Linked DNA regions of Homo sapiens: region 2 is linked to region 1. The links are contacts of gene promoters, found by promoter capture Hi-C in human tissues and cell types (Jung and others, 2019). All regions are on one chromosome and are shown on one strand. The core of a region is centred on a gene start or on the middle of the fragment in contact, and the rest is flanking DNA. Distances in the headings are between cores, read along the strand shown.

What was found. Contacts are between HindIII fragments. The study calls those that stand out against the background at their distance.
Region 2: a contact is called between a fragment that was not itself captured here and the fragment with the promoter of ADCYAP1 in region 1, in 2 of the 25 tissues and cell types used here (H1 embryonic stem cells and mesendoderm cells).

The regions. Positions count from the first base shown.
Region 1 is chr18:901,026-908,504 of GRCh38, reverse strand. ADCYAP1 (adenylate cyclase activating polypeptide 1) reads right to left here and starts at 3,634. Exons shown (of 5, transcript NM_001099733.2): 1 at 3,445-3,634; 2 at 3,009-3,119; 3 at 715-846; 4 at 142-240. The coding sequence starts at 3,118. LOC124904340 (a long non-coding RNA gene) reads left to right here and starts at 1,853. Exons shown (of 2, transcript XR_007066435.1): 1 at 1,853-3,423; 2 at 4,157-5,741. RefSeq lists an enhancer at 68-789. The HindIII fragment of the contact is 12,558 bases long and covers 1-6,062 here.
Region 2 is chr18:1,029,477-1,036,955 of GRCh38, reverse strand. All of the region lies in intron 1 of LOC107985165 (a long non-coding RNA gene), which reads right to left. Among named protein-coding and RNA genes, the nearest start is that of LINC01904, 110 kb to the right of the region's middle. The HindIII fragment of the contact is 3,093 bases long and covers 2,127-5,219 here.

The sequences.
Region 1 (7,479 bases), core at 2,385-4,884:
GACCCGTGGCGGATGCCCACCCCAGACCCAGGGGCGCAGACTCACCCTGGCCCCCACGGGCACCCACCGCCGCCCGCCCCGCGCGCCCCGCACAGGCACCCACCCCGGCGCGCGCAGGTTAATCCTTCCACAAACTCTTACCCCACGCCCCGGGCCACGAGCGACTGCAGGTGCTTCCCGGCGGACAGCTGGTCCAGCACTTTGCGGTAGGCCTCGTTAAGGATCCCGTGGGCGACATCTCTAACGGGGAGGCAAAGTGCGCGCCCAGGGTCACTGTTTCTGTCCCCAGGTGGCCGCTAGAGACCCCCTTGTTGGGCGCGCGCCCCCTCGGCGGCCGGGGAGGCTGACAGGGAAACCTCCAGAGGCCCAGAACTCGCCAATAACTCCCGGGATGATCTCGAGAGCAACTGCTAGGATCGGGAGCTAGTCCCGGCTCTAGGAGTGGCAGATGCGGAGTGTGGGTTCCTTGACGCCACTCACTGCCACTCTTTGGGCCACAGCCCCCCTCGGTCCCCACGCGGCCCTCAGGTCCACACAGACCCGCCCGCTGCTGATTTTCTGTCGCTGCAATAGGATCGGGCCAGGGAGAGGACAGGCTTGAGGACTTTCACGGGAAAAAAAAAAAAATCCTGGGTGGGTCACCACACTGCCCCTCCCGTCACCGCAGTCCCGAGCTCCCAGCCGCGGGTGTGCGCGAGGCCGCGCGAATCTCACCTTCTCCCGGCCGGGCGGTACCAGGCGGCGGCGGCGCGCGGCGCGGAGGCGGGGCTCCCTGCGCCCGGCGGCTCCGAGCCATCGAAGTCTGGCAGCGGGTTTCCGTCCTCGCCGTACGCCTCTTCCTCTGGCCTGCGGGGTGGCCGGGGACAGAAGGTGTGGTCAGTGCAAGTTCCTCCCCAGCTCGGCGAGGATCCAAAGTAAGGGGCTCGCGCGGATTTTCACAGGTGATAAAAGTCCTCCGCTGAGAATTGTCTCTTCTCCCAGGACTGGGGGTGGGAGCAGAGGTAAGGAGGAGGCAACGACACCCAACCACTCCTACCCCGCCGGGCGGCCCGCCCACCCCCCCTTCGCGGGTAAAGGGTCGTCCTGCGGGCCACGGCCTCAACAAGCGCTGGGAAACCGAGGCGTCTCCGCCGATCGCGCACACCTGTCTACGGAAAAGGACCGCCCCCCTCCCCGCCTGGCTCCCGAGCCTCCCCAAAGCAGCAACGGGCGGGGACGAGAAAGGCCCTGGGAGACCGGGCGCTGACCCACGCGAAGACCCGAATGGGGAGGCCCAGAAAGCAAAGGAGAGGATGCGTGGGGCGTGCGGGGGCCAACTCCTCAGCCACCCCCACCCCAGCCTCCGAGCCCAGGGGAGCCCTTCTCCGAGCAGATGTAGGTCACGGAGAACCTCGGTTTCTATTTTGGGCAGGCGAGGATCTGGCAGGAACATGAATAATAAATGCCCCTAAACTTAGCCAGTTCGGCGGCGGCTCAGACTGTGGCGCGTCCGCACCCTCCGGTGCTTCTCGCACGGAGAAAGTGCCAGGCACACGGGAACTTGAAAATAGCTGAGGGTGAAACCAGGGTGTTTTAAGGCCACTAAACGAATAGTTCGCGCTGATCTGTTATCGATGGCGGTGCCCCATCTCAACCCCAGAGCACGAGGAGGGGGACCGAGATCCAGCGAGTGCCTGGCGACTTCGCAGTCGCCCTCTACAGCCTCCGTTCTTGACACAGGACGGGTAGAGATGGGTTAAAACAAATCCCTCTCGCTTTGGACCCCTGGAGAGACTTGGCGTGCAGCCAGCGCTAGTAGCACTCTCTGGGCGGGGTTGGAGTCGTACTTCGCTGCTTCACTCGCCTTTTCTCCATCCTTGGAGAGGCCCGGGCAAGGCAAGCGCATCATTCCGCACGCCTCGCACCCAGCCTTTGCTCGGCGATGCGCCTCAGCCCTGGCCCGGGTACCCCGAACCCTGGGGTCTTTCTGGATATTGCCCTGCCTCGAGCCCAGATGCTGGAATCCTAATACAGAACCCAGAACCCATCTCTCCGTCCAAATCAATGATCAGCGGCCCCCCAGAGCTAATGTTCCTGGGCGGGGCTCGGAGAAGGCAGCTTCGCAGGCAGAACGCGCGCTCCTCGCTGCCCCAGGCGCCGCTGGTACGAACCCTCCCCTACCCAGGGCTCATCCACAGCCTGGCACATCGGTCCGCGACTCTGGGGCTGCCTCCGGGAACCTGGGCCGCGCCTGCCGGTTAGAAACCCGGGGTTAAGAAAAAAGCCAAGGTTCCTCCATCCCGGGCCAGGCAGGGCTGCTCTCCCGGTCCTGCCTGCCTGCTGGCTTTCCCTTCCTCCTCCTTTGCGCCTGTTTTTCCCCCTCCTTCGCAGTCTCGTCCTTGTTCTTCCCTCTCTTAAGTCGCTTTTCCTCAATCACACCGGGCCAACACCCTCCCCACCGCACGCCCCCCAAGACAGCCTGGGATTCAAAATGCAGTTGGAACACGGATCACTTGAAAGAAAGCTCTTCAGGGGAAAGAATTGGAATGAAATGAAAAGAAAGGGTGGAGGAGAGAGAGAGACCCCACCCGGATAGTCCAGAACAAGCAGTAACAAAGCAAAGTCCGAGGGAGCTTCACGCTCAACCCCCGGCCAGGCTCCAGAGCTGAAGTTCTCCTAACTCGTCCCAAGAATAGGTAAAAGAAACCAAGCTAGGGGCCGTGCCCTGCCCCCATCCTGTGGGCCGGGTTGGGGGAGGGGGGGTTCTCCAGCGGCCAGAAGCTCACTGGCTCTACCCGGGACCCTGAGCTGCCTAGGGCTGGGGGAGGCGTCCGAGCAGTCGCGGAGCCTGCCAGACCCTCGGCTAGAATGGGGACCCGCTGTCCAGCCGAGGCTGGCGGAGGCGCACCGGGGGCGCAGAGGGCGATGCTAGTAGTCTGGACCCAAAGGACTGCAGGAAGGAGACCGTGAGGAAGCGTCTGTGCCTGGGAAGCCCCAGCTCCTGCTTGGGCCAGGCAGCCAGCACCTACCTGATCCCGGGGAACCGGAGTCCGGCGGCGGCAGGTGAGCTGTAGACGCTGCTGTGCATGATTATCCCATAGACCAGCAGGGCCAGCCTCGCTCCGCTACACATGGTCATTCTGCGCAGGATGGGAAAGAGGACACACAGCTGTGAGAACGCCCCTGGCCTCCCACCCTCCAACCCCAAAAAGCTCTGGAAGCCGGGGGAGGGACGGAGCGAAGCCCCGGCTCCCTGAGTTGAACAGCACTTGGCGACAGCCGGTGCGCGCCCTGCCACTTCTTGCTTGCTATAGTTAGAAAAAAATATATATATATGCATCTACCCGGCGCCCAATAACTAGCCAGACCCGGCTGAAGGAAAGCTAACTCCCCTGACGCGATGCCAAGCGAAAGAATCAGCAGTCGAGTGAGCCGGTCGCTTTGGTAAGATTTTCCCTCCCTTACCCTTCAACTCCTCCCGCTGCCAGGAGAGCTGCCAGGTAGGACGGCGGGCAAAGCGCTTCTTCAAGTTCCTGCGCTGGAGTCACCACCCGAGAGGCATCGCCGTCTGGCGTTGGTGTCTGAGCAGAAGCCGCAGGAACCAGCGGGAGCAGCAGGAGGAGCTGCGGGACTCGTTTGCCGAGGCTCGTGTTCTGCTCAAAAGTTTGTAGACGCGCAGAACCAGGAGGGAGCGTGACACGGAGAGAAGGGGGCGCAGAGAGAGAGGCAGAAGAAAGAAAGAGGGGGCGATGAGGTGAAGCGCGGAGGAGCAAGGTGGCCGTAAGTCCACCCGGAGGAAGAAGCAGGCGATTAAGGGAAAGAGGGAAAGTCAGAAAAGAAGGGGAGGAAGGCAAGGGAGAGGGCGGGCGGCTAGCCCGCCTTTGTAGGAGCCGCGGGCCAGGCAGCCGCGAGGGTCGGCGGCGCCTTCTCTGCTCCGAGGTCTCTCCGGCTGCCTCTGAAGCTGCGGCTTCTGCTGCTGCTACCGCTGGTTACAGAGGTGACCGGCCTTCTGCTCCTATTTATCTGTGCAGTTCGCAAAAATCTATCCGAACATGGTTTTTGGAGAGCCCTCTTTGTCAACATCTGCCTGCCTGTTGCCTTTAAGTACAGAATATTTTGTTGCACTGTTGCGCTCCGATTTTTATTCATGAAATGACTTCCTTTTTTTTTTTCTCAGTCACGTAATGATCGGGTATCAGAAAAAGACGTCAGCATCCTAGTCCCTCAAGGAACATATTAACTATTCTGTGCTGTCCTCTTGGATGATAAGATCCGGAGTCATCGACTTCTCATAAACACCTTTCACTCATACAATCCAATTTTTAAGAAGTCCAATTGTTTTGATGGTTTTCAATTTCACCCGTTTCTCAAGGACAGGTAAAGAATTTTTAGAATTTTGAGGATGACAAAAGTTATGTTTTTAACTATATAATTACGATTTCTCTTTACTTTTTCATCAAGCCTCACCAATCAGAGCTCTGGTCTCTGGAATTAAGCATCATCAAGCTCTCCTATTAATAAATTTAATTTAGATCTCCTAATTTCTTGCGTATGTTCTTTCAGATAGACCATTAAATGTGGAAGTCGTTTTGTTTTTAAAGGGAAGTCTTGGAGGATTTTCAGTAAATCTCTCCTGAGTCTGGCTGCCGTTGACAGTAGGGCTATGAGTAGATTGATGAGAGCTCATGCTGCCTCCGGAGCGCGGCCTGCGGAGCTGTCCAGACTCCGGGTGCTGAAGTGTAGGGTAACAGATGCTACAAACGTTGAAAATTGCCACCGGTTTAATTTTTCACCAGAGCCTCTAAATTTGAAGATTTGGCAGTAGTGCTATTAACGTGGCGATTCATCGCCTAAATCACCCCCACCGTTCAGATACATCCTTTCCCTCTTGTAGCGTCCATAAATGCCCTAATGCTGAGAATGCTCCCCATCCCTGCCTGGATTTGAGGAAAAAGCATTCTGTCCCCCGTTAGTCCTGGCTTTTGGATTTCTAGACCGGCTGTTTGGCTACTTTCACACCTTCTGTGGCTCTTACAGATTTTAAAAATTGATGTTGTGAAATTGTGTTTTCCACAAGAAGTGAAATTTTAAGAATTTGGGGGCGAGAAATATGTTTTTCCACTTTGTTTACAACTTCAGCTCTGTTTGGGAGACACAGACAGACTGGGAAAGCATGAGGGTTCCCAGTACAAGTTCACCTGATGAAGGTTTCTAACAGGAATCCCTCTGCTGGAAACAGTTAATTTTTTTAACTGAAAATGATGTGGGAAGAGGAAAGCAATAAGGGAAGACCATATCCACCCAGAGGCTTCCAATTTCCTGGGTAATTGAAGAAGGTTCATATATTTCTACTCCAGTAAGAGAACTCAGGTCTATTTCTTTAAAAAAAAAAAAAAGAAGAAGAAGAAAGAAAGAAAGAAAATAGAGCCATCAATAACCATTAGAGTGCATTTTAATTATTTGGATCTTACACAAAAATTAGGGGAAATTCCAGTTTAGTGGGAGGGTTTCCTGTTACTACGATTTGGATCTCACATTTAAATAAGCTATATTAGTTCTGCATGCTTTTTCCAAGATATTATATTTCTCCTTCTAAATGCTGTTCCTGCTCTTATTTGAGATTTAATACTTCCTCCTTCTTAAAAAAAAAAACTAAGTTTTGTTTATTCCTGGCCATGAATGACCGAAAACTGTCTGCTTCCTCTTAGTTTATTCCTGGCCGTGCTTCAGATTGTCTGCCTTCAATAAAGCTTCAAACCACATCTACATGGGAATATGTCTCTTTTTCTCTGATACATATGCTCACTGATTTATGTTGGACTGTTTACATGCGTGTTTTCCATGTTCAGCTCTGCCTCTGCAGCAAGCTCGCACACAAAGAGCCTGCGGTGAACACTACCAGATAATCAAGCAGAGATGTCTTTCTTACTAAAGCGCCCAAAGCTATTCCCCACTGTGGCTTTCCTGTCTTCCGCCTTGCTTCACGTCAAAGGTGAACCCCATTAAAATCCTTACTCTTTCCTCCCACACGAATTCTGAGTTGAGTTCAATCTGGAGAAATATTTGAAAATTTCCAAGACTCCTTGTACAATTCACTACTCAACTTTAGTAAAGGGAGCCACCATGTGGGGAGTTTGCTGACTTCACGGCCCATTAAAGGGGGAAAACCACAAACACGATTAACTATCTGGGGAGGACGACTAACTGCTGGCTCCAAGGGCCAACAGAGGCTGAACTGTGCCTCTGACTTACCAAGGCTGCGACCCCGTGCTCTTCTCAGCTTAGATACTCTCAGCTCAGAACTCGGGGCTCAGCACCCAAAAATTACAGGCCTTCAGACCTGAACCCATTCACGAGAGTGAAAGACTAAACAGAGAACTTGAGATTCTTGGTCACTGAACTCCAGAAAATCAAGCTTCCTAGACCCACCAATTGCTCAACACAATCTAAAGACCCACACAGCCCTGCCCACAGCAGCCTGGGGGAATCAAACTCCTACAGGATCACCCACAGATCTTTTGTTGCTCATGGCCATTGTCTAGCTGGGCATGTTTGACATCTCTCTGCAGGAGAGCTTTCCTATTCATGAAAATCTGGCCTTGGCCCTGGGCCAAGGGAAAAGGCCAATAGATAGGAGGAACTAGAAGCTGCTAGATGAGAGTATAGGCCCCTTCTGCTTTCTATTGGGTAGAGGGAATATGGGATGACTGAAGTCTCAAAGACCAAAACTACCCCCAAATGCCCCTTTGATTCTAATCTTGGAAGGCTCCAGTCAAGCATTAACAGAGCATCCTGGAGGCCTTTGTGTCTGGGACTTTGAGGGAGCTGCAAGGAAGAGGGAACTTGTCAGCCCAAAGCCCCAGGCTAGAGAGACCAGGAGCCCCGGCATGCACTGAGGAGGCATGCGGCAGTGGCCAGGTGGGATACCGTGGCCCAGTCCAACAGACATACTAATTGCAAGTGCAGACCCCAGCCTGGCTTCAAGTGCAGATAGGAGCTGGAGGGTGAATCCTAGGAAGCCTCAACTAAAGCACTTTTATGAGAAGAGAGAGAGATAAAGGGAGGAGGAGCTAGAGGAGAATTGGGGAAGAGCAAGACCAGGGTAGGAGAGCCTTCCACTTTAATTGTTCTTACCCAGTTTCCCTCACAAAGGGTATTTAGGTGACTGGGGTTAAGAGCTCAAGAGAAACTTTCCAACCTCCTATATATAATTGAAAATGATGAAAGAGGGGGTTGGGGGAGAGGAGGAAGAAGAGACCAAAGAGTTAGAACGTTCTATTTACAGATAACACAAAGGAATTTCAAGTCTTCTTTCCAACACCCCTACTCCCTTCCCTCAGTGCTCACCAGAATACTTCCCAGGCCAGAAAAGTAGATTTCCCAGGCTGGCAGTTTCTTTCCAGGCTGTGAGATTGTTACATTAACTGGAATCATGTTTGGCTAGAAAAGTTAGAAGAACAATGGAAATCTTTCAGTGGGAGGTCTAACCAGCATCCTCCC
Region 2 (7,479 bases), core at 2,424-4,923, 130 kb before region 1:
CCCAGTAAGCCCATTACTGGGTATATACCCACAGGAAAATAAATTGTTCTACCAAAAAAGCACTGGCTCTCATATGTTTATTGCAGCACTCTTCACAATAGCAAAGACATGGGACCAACTTATGTGCCCATCAACGGTGGACTGGTTAAAGAAAATATGGTACATATACACCATGGAATAATATGCAGCCACAAAAAAAGAACAAAATCATGTCTTTTGCAGCAGCATAGATGTAGCTGGAGGCCATTATCCTAAGCGAATTAATGCAGAAACAGAAAATCAAATACTGCCTGTTCTTACTTATAAATTGGAGCTGAACATTTGGGTACACACAGACACAAAAATGGGAACAGTAGACACTGGAAACTCTGAAAGACAGGGATGGCAGGGGTAAGGGTTAATAAAGTCTCCACTGGGGACTATGTTAACTATTTGGGTGATGGGATTAATAGAGGCCCAAGCCTCAGCAGATATACCTCAGCATATACATCATGCAATATACCCATGTAAAAAACCTACCCATGTACCCCCTGAATCTAAAACTTAAAATTTAAATTGAAATTTAAAAAAAACATTTTTTAAAAAAGAAAGTAACAGGCAAGCCTTTAGTCTTGCCTTTAGCAATAGTCTAAGCAAGAGGCTAAATCAGAGAAAGTGTCAACTCCCGTTTAATTTTCCCCCTCAGAATAGCACCAGTTCAGGGTCAGGAGGATCGGCATAAATGTGACGGTCACCTCACTGCCAAGGGAGCCCCAAACAAAAGGCCCTGAAGTCTTATGAACCTGGGCAATAAGGGGAAGTAGGCAGGAGTGTAGAAAAGCATTAAGTACTGAGTCAGAGTAGAGGAAAATGTCTTCAGGGTCTCCTCCTCCCTCTCCACAATAAGGAAGTCTCTGCTGATGGCCCTGGATAAAGAGGCTTCCAAAAGGAGGCATCTGGGCTAGGAATGCAGCCATGTATAACAGCATGGCTGGCCAGGGCTGAGTCCTTGACAGTCACTGCTTTCTCAGACTGCAGTGCACTGGGTGTCGCCAAGTCTCAGGGGGCATGGCAGCTCTGCCCTATGAGGCCTGCCAGATAAGGTCTTTGTAATTGTCTAAGGTTGGGCCTGAAAGTTATGCAGAGGTTTTTGACCAGGATCTGTACTCCCCTCAGTGGCAACTTTTAAAAATATTCCATTTTGTTCATCTCCCACATTTACATTTGGGTTGTGAAAGAAATTCACTGTCACCAAGTTTGGAAAAAGAAGTGTGTGAGTGTGTGTGTGTGTGTGTAGTGTAATGTATTTTTAAAAATACGTTGTAAATGTTTTCATGAGAATGTAAAACTTGCATCAAAAATATGTAATCTTACAGTAAATCCAACCTAAGAAAAGTTCAGGTAAAGAAATAATGAAGATAAAAGCAGAGATTAATAAAATTAATTTGAATAAAATTAAAAACAAAAATGAAAGGCAGACACTTGTCAAAGCCAAAAGTTAGTTCTTTGAAAACATTAATAATATGGAAAAGGTCACTTCCAAGATGGCCAAATAGGAACGGCTCTGGTCTACAGCTCCCAGCAAGATAGATGCAGAAGACAGGTGATTTCTGCATTTCCAACTGAGGTACCTGGTTCATCTCATTCGGACTGTTGGACAGTGGGTAAAGCCCATGGAGGGCGAGCCGAAGCAGGACAGGGCGTTCCCTCACCCAGGAAGCGTAAGGGGTCGGGGGATTTCCCTTTCCTAGCTAAGGGAAGCAATGAGTGACTGTACCTGGAGGAATGGTACACTCCTGAATAAATACTGCACTTTTCCCACAGTCTTCACAACTGGTAGACCAGGAGATTCCCTCCTATGCCTGGCTCAGCAGGTCCCACTCCCATGGAGCCTTGCTTGCTGCTAGCACAGCAGTCTGAGATTGACCTGGGAAGCTGGAGCTTGGGAGGTTGAGGCATCCACCATTGCTGAAGCTTGAGTAGGCAGTTCTATGCTGACATTGTAAACAAAGCAGCAGGGAAGCTCAAACTAGGTGGAGCCCACAGCAGCTTCGTAAGGCCTACTGCCTCTCTAGATTCCACCTCTGGGGGCAAGGCATATCTGAACAAAAGGCAGCAGAGAGCTTCTGCAGACTTAAACGTCCCTGCCTGACAGCTCTGAAGAGAGCAGTGGATCTCCCAGCATGGCGTTTCAGCTCCAATAACAGACAGACTGCCTCCTCAAGTGGGTCCCTAACCCCTGCATAGTCTGACTGGGAGAAACCTCCCAGTAGGGGCCTACAGACACCTCAAACAGGGAGATGCCCCTCTGGGACGAAGCTTCCAGAGGAAGGATCAGGCAGCAATATTTGCTGTTCTGCAGCCTCCACTGGTGATGCCTAGGCAAACAGGGTCTGGAGTGGACCTCCAGCAAACTCCAACAGACCTGCAACTGAGGGGCCTGGCTGTTAGAAGGAAAACTAACAAACAGAAAGGAACAGCACCAACATAAACAAAAGGGACATCCACAGCAAAACCCCATCCATAGGTCACCAGCATCAAAGACCAAAGGTAGATAAAACCACAAAGATGGGGAGAAACCAGAACAGAAAGGCTGAAAATTCCAAAAACCAGAATGCCCCTTCTCCTCCAAAGGAACACAACTCCTCGCCAGCAAGGGAAAAAAAACTGAATGGAGAATGAGTTTGACGAGTTGACAGAAGTAGGCTTCAGAAGATTGGCAATAACAAACTTCTCCAAGCTAAAGAAGCATGTTCTAACCCATTGCAAGGAAGCTAAAAACCTTGAAAAAAGGTTAGGCGAATGGCTAACTAGAATAAATGCATAGAGAAGACCTTAAATGACCTGATGGAGCTGAAAACCACAGTATGAGAACCTCATGAAGCATAAACAAGCTTCAATAGCTAATTCAATCAAGCAGAAGAAAGGATATTAGTGATTGAAGATCAAATTAATGAAATAAAGTGTGAAGACAATATTAGAGAAAAAAGACTATGTGAAAAGACCAAATCTACATTTGATTGGTGTATCTGAAAGTGATGGGGAGAATGGAACCAAGTTAGAAAACACTCTTCAGAACATTATCCAGGAGAACTTCCCCAACCTAGCAAGGCAGGCCAACATTCAAATCCAGGAAATACAGAGAATGCCACAAAGATACTCCTCGAGAATAGCAACTCCAAGACACACAACTGTCAGATTCACCAAAGTTGAAATGAAGGAAAAAATGTTAAGGGCAGCCAAAGAGAAAGGTTGGGTTACCCACAAAGGTAAGCCCATCAGACTAACAGTGGATCTCTCAGCAGAAACCCTCCAAGCCAGAAGAGAGTCGGGGACTAATATTCAACATTCCTAAAGAAAAGAATTTTCAACCCAGAATTTTCATATCCAGCCAAACTAAGTTTCATAAGTGAAGGAGAAATAAAATCCTTTACAGGCAAGCAAATGCTGAGAGATTTTGTCACCACCAGGCCTGCCTTACAAGAGCTCCTGAAGGAAGCACTAAACATGGAAAGGAACAGCCGGTACCAGCTACTGCAAAAACATGCCAAATTGTAAAGACCATCAACCCTATAAAGAAACTGTATCAATTAACGGGCAAAATAACCAGCTAGCATCACAATGACAGGATCAAATTCACACATAACAATCTTAACCTTAAATGTAATGGGCTAAATTCCCCAATTAAAAGACACAGACTGGCAAATTGGATAAAGAGTCAAGACCCATCGGTGTGCTGTATTCAGGAGACCCATCTCACATACAAAGACACACATTGGCTTAAAATAAAAGGATGGAGGAACATCTACCATGCAAATGGAAAGCAGAAAAAAAAAGCAGGTGTTGGTTGCAATCCTGGTCTCTGATAAAGCAGACTTTAAACCAACAAAGATCAAAAGAGACAAAAAAGGCCATTACACAATGATAATGGGATCAATTCAACAAGAAGAGCTAACTATCCTAAATATATATGCACCCAATACAGGAGTACCCAGATTCATAAAGCAAGTTCTTAAAGACCTACAAAGAGACTTAGACTCCCACACAATAATAATGGGAGACTTTAACACCCCACTATCAATATTAGACAGATCAATGAGACAGAAAATTAACAGGGATATCCAGGACTTGAACTCAGCTCTGAACCAAGCAGACCTGATAGATATCTACAGAACTCTACACCCCAAATCAACAGAATATACATTCTTCTCAGCACCACATCACACTTATTCTAAAATTGACCACATAATTAAAAGTAAAACACTCCTCAGCAAATGTTAAAGAACAGAAATCACAACAAACTGTCTCTCAGAATACAGTGCAATCAAATTAGAACTCAGGACTAAGAAACTCACTCAAAACCACACAACTACATGGAAAGTGAACAACCTGCTCCTGAATGACTACTGGGTAAGTAATGAAATGAAGGCAGAAATAAAGATGTTCTTTGAAACCAGTGAGAACAAAGACACAACATACCAGAATCTCTGGGACACATTTAAACCAATGTGTAGAGGGAAATTTATAGCACTAAATGCCCACAAGAGAAGGCAGGCAAGATCTAAAATTGACACCCTAACATCACAATTAAAACAACTAGAGAAGCAAGAGCAAACAAATTCAAAAGCTAGCAGAAGGCAAGAAATAACTAAATACAGAGCAGAACTGAAGGAGATAGAGACACAAAAAACCCTTCAAAAAACCAGTGAATCCAAGAGCTGGTTTTTTGAAAAGATTAACAAAATAGATAGACTGCTATCCAGACTAATAAAGAAGAAAAGAGAGAAGAATCAAATAGACGCAGTAAGAAATGATAAAGGGGATATCACCACCGATCCCACAGAAATACAAACTACCATAAGAGAATACTATAAACACCTCTATGCAAATAAACTAGAAAATCTAGAAGAAATGGATAAATTCCTCGGCACGTACACCCTCCAAAGACTAAACTAGGAAGAAGTTGAATCTCTGAATAGACCAATAACATGTTCTGAAATTGAGGCAATAATTAATAGCCTACCAACAAAAAAAGTCCGGGACCAGATGGATTCACACCCAAATTCTACCAGAGCTACAAAGAGGAGCTGGTACCATTCCTTCTGAAACTATTCCAATCAATAGAAAAAGACGGAATCCTCCTTAACTCATTTTATGAGGCCAGCATCATCCTGATACCAAAGCTTGGCAGAGACACAACAAAAAAAGAGAATTTTAGGCCAGTATCCCTGATAAACATCGATGCAAAATACTCAATAAAATACTGGCGAACAGAATCCAGCAGCACATCAAAAAGCTTATCCACCATGATGAAGTCAGCTTCACCCCTGAGATGCAAGGCTGGTTCAACCTACACAAATCAATAAACGTAATCCATCACATAAACAGAACCAACAACAAAAACCACATGATTATCTCAATAGATACAGAAAAGGCCTTCAAAAAAATTCAACAATGTTTCATGCTAAAAACTCTAATAAACTAGGTATTGATGGACCATATCTCAAAATAATAAGAGCTACCTATGATGAACCCACAGCCAATATCATACTGAATGGGAAAAAACTGGAAGCATTCCCTTTGAAAAGGGGCATAAGACAAGGATGCCCTCTCACCACTCCCATTCAACATGGTATTGGAAGTGCTGGCCAGGGCAATCAGGCAACAGAAAGAAATAAAGATATTCAAATAGGAAGAGAGGAAGTCAAATTGTCTCTGTTTGCAGATGATATGATTTTATATTTGGTAAACTCCATCGTCTCAGCCCAAAATCTCCTTAAGCTGATAAGCAACTTCAGCAAAGTCTCAGGATATAAAATCAATATGCAAAAATCACAAACATTCCTATACACCAAGAACAGGAAAACAGAGCCAAATCATGAGTGAACTCCCATTCACAATTACTACTACAAAGAGAATGAAATACCTAGGAATCCAATTTACAAGGGATGTGAAGGACCTCTTCAAGGAGAACTACAAACCACTGCTCAACGAAATAAGAGGACACAAACAAATGGAAGAACATTCCATGTTCATGGATAGGAAGAATCAATATCGTGAAAATGGCCATACTACCCAAGGTAATTTATAGATTCAATGCTATCCCCATCAAGCTACCAATTACTTTCTTCACAGAATTGGAAAAAACTACATTAAATTTCACATGGAACCAAAAGAGAACCCACATAGCCAAGACATCCTAAGCAAACCTGACTTCAAACTATACTACAAGGCTACAGTAACCAAAACAGCATGGTACCGGTACCAAAACAGAGATATAGGCCAATGGAACAGAACAGAGGCCTCAGAAAAAACACCACCCATCTACAACCATCTGATCTTTGACAAACCTGACAAAAACAAGCAATGGGGAAAGGATTCCCTATTTAATAAGTGGTGCTGGGAAAACAGGATAGCCATATGTAGAAAGCTGAAACTGGATCCCTTCCTTACACCTTGTACAAAAATTAACTCAAGATGAATTAAAGACTTAAATGTAAAACATAAAACCATAAAAACCCTAGAAGAAAACCTAGGCAATACCATTTAGGACATAGGCATGGGCAAGGACTTCATGACTAAAACACCAAAAGCAATGGCAACAAAAGCCAAAATTGACAAATGGGATCTAATTAAACCAAAGATCTTCTGCACAGCAAAAGAAACTACCATCAGAGTGAACAGGCCACCTACAGAATGGGAGAACATTTTTGCAATCTATCCATCTGACAAAGGGCTAATATCTAGAATCTACAAAGAACTTAAACAAATTTACAAGAAAAAAAAACCCCATCCAAAAGTGGGTGAAGGATATGAAGAGACACTTCTCAAAAGAAGACATGTATGCAGCCAACAGACATATGAAAAAATGCTCATCATTACTGGTCATCAGAGAAATGCAAATCAAAACTGCAATGAGATACCCTCTCACGCCAGTTAGAATGTCAATCATTAAAAAGTCAGGAAACAACAGATGCTGGAGAGGATGTGGAGAAATAGGAACGCTTTTACACTGTTGGTGGGAGTGTAAACTAGCTCAACCATTGTGGAAGAGAGTATGGTGATTCCTCAAGGATCTAGAATTAGAAATACCATTTGACCCAGGGATCCCATTACTGGGTATATACCCAAAGGATTATAAATCATGCTATTATAAAGACACATGCACATTTATGTTTACTGCAGCACTATTCACAATAGCAAAGACTTGGAACCAACCCAAATGTCCATCAATGATAGACTGGATAAAGAAAATGTGGCACATATACACCATGGAATACTAGGCAGCCATAAAAAAGGATGAGTTTATGTCCTTTGCAGGGACATGGATGAAGCTGGAAACCATCATTCTCAGCAAAATATCACAAGGACAGAAAATCAAACACCACATGTTCTGACTCATAAGTGGGAGTTTAACGACGAGAACACACGGACACAGGGAGGGGAACATCACACACTGGGGCCTGTTGCGTGGTGTGGGGCTAGGGGAGGGATAGTGTT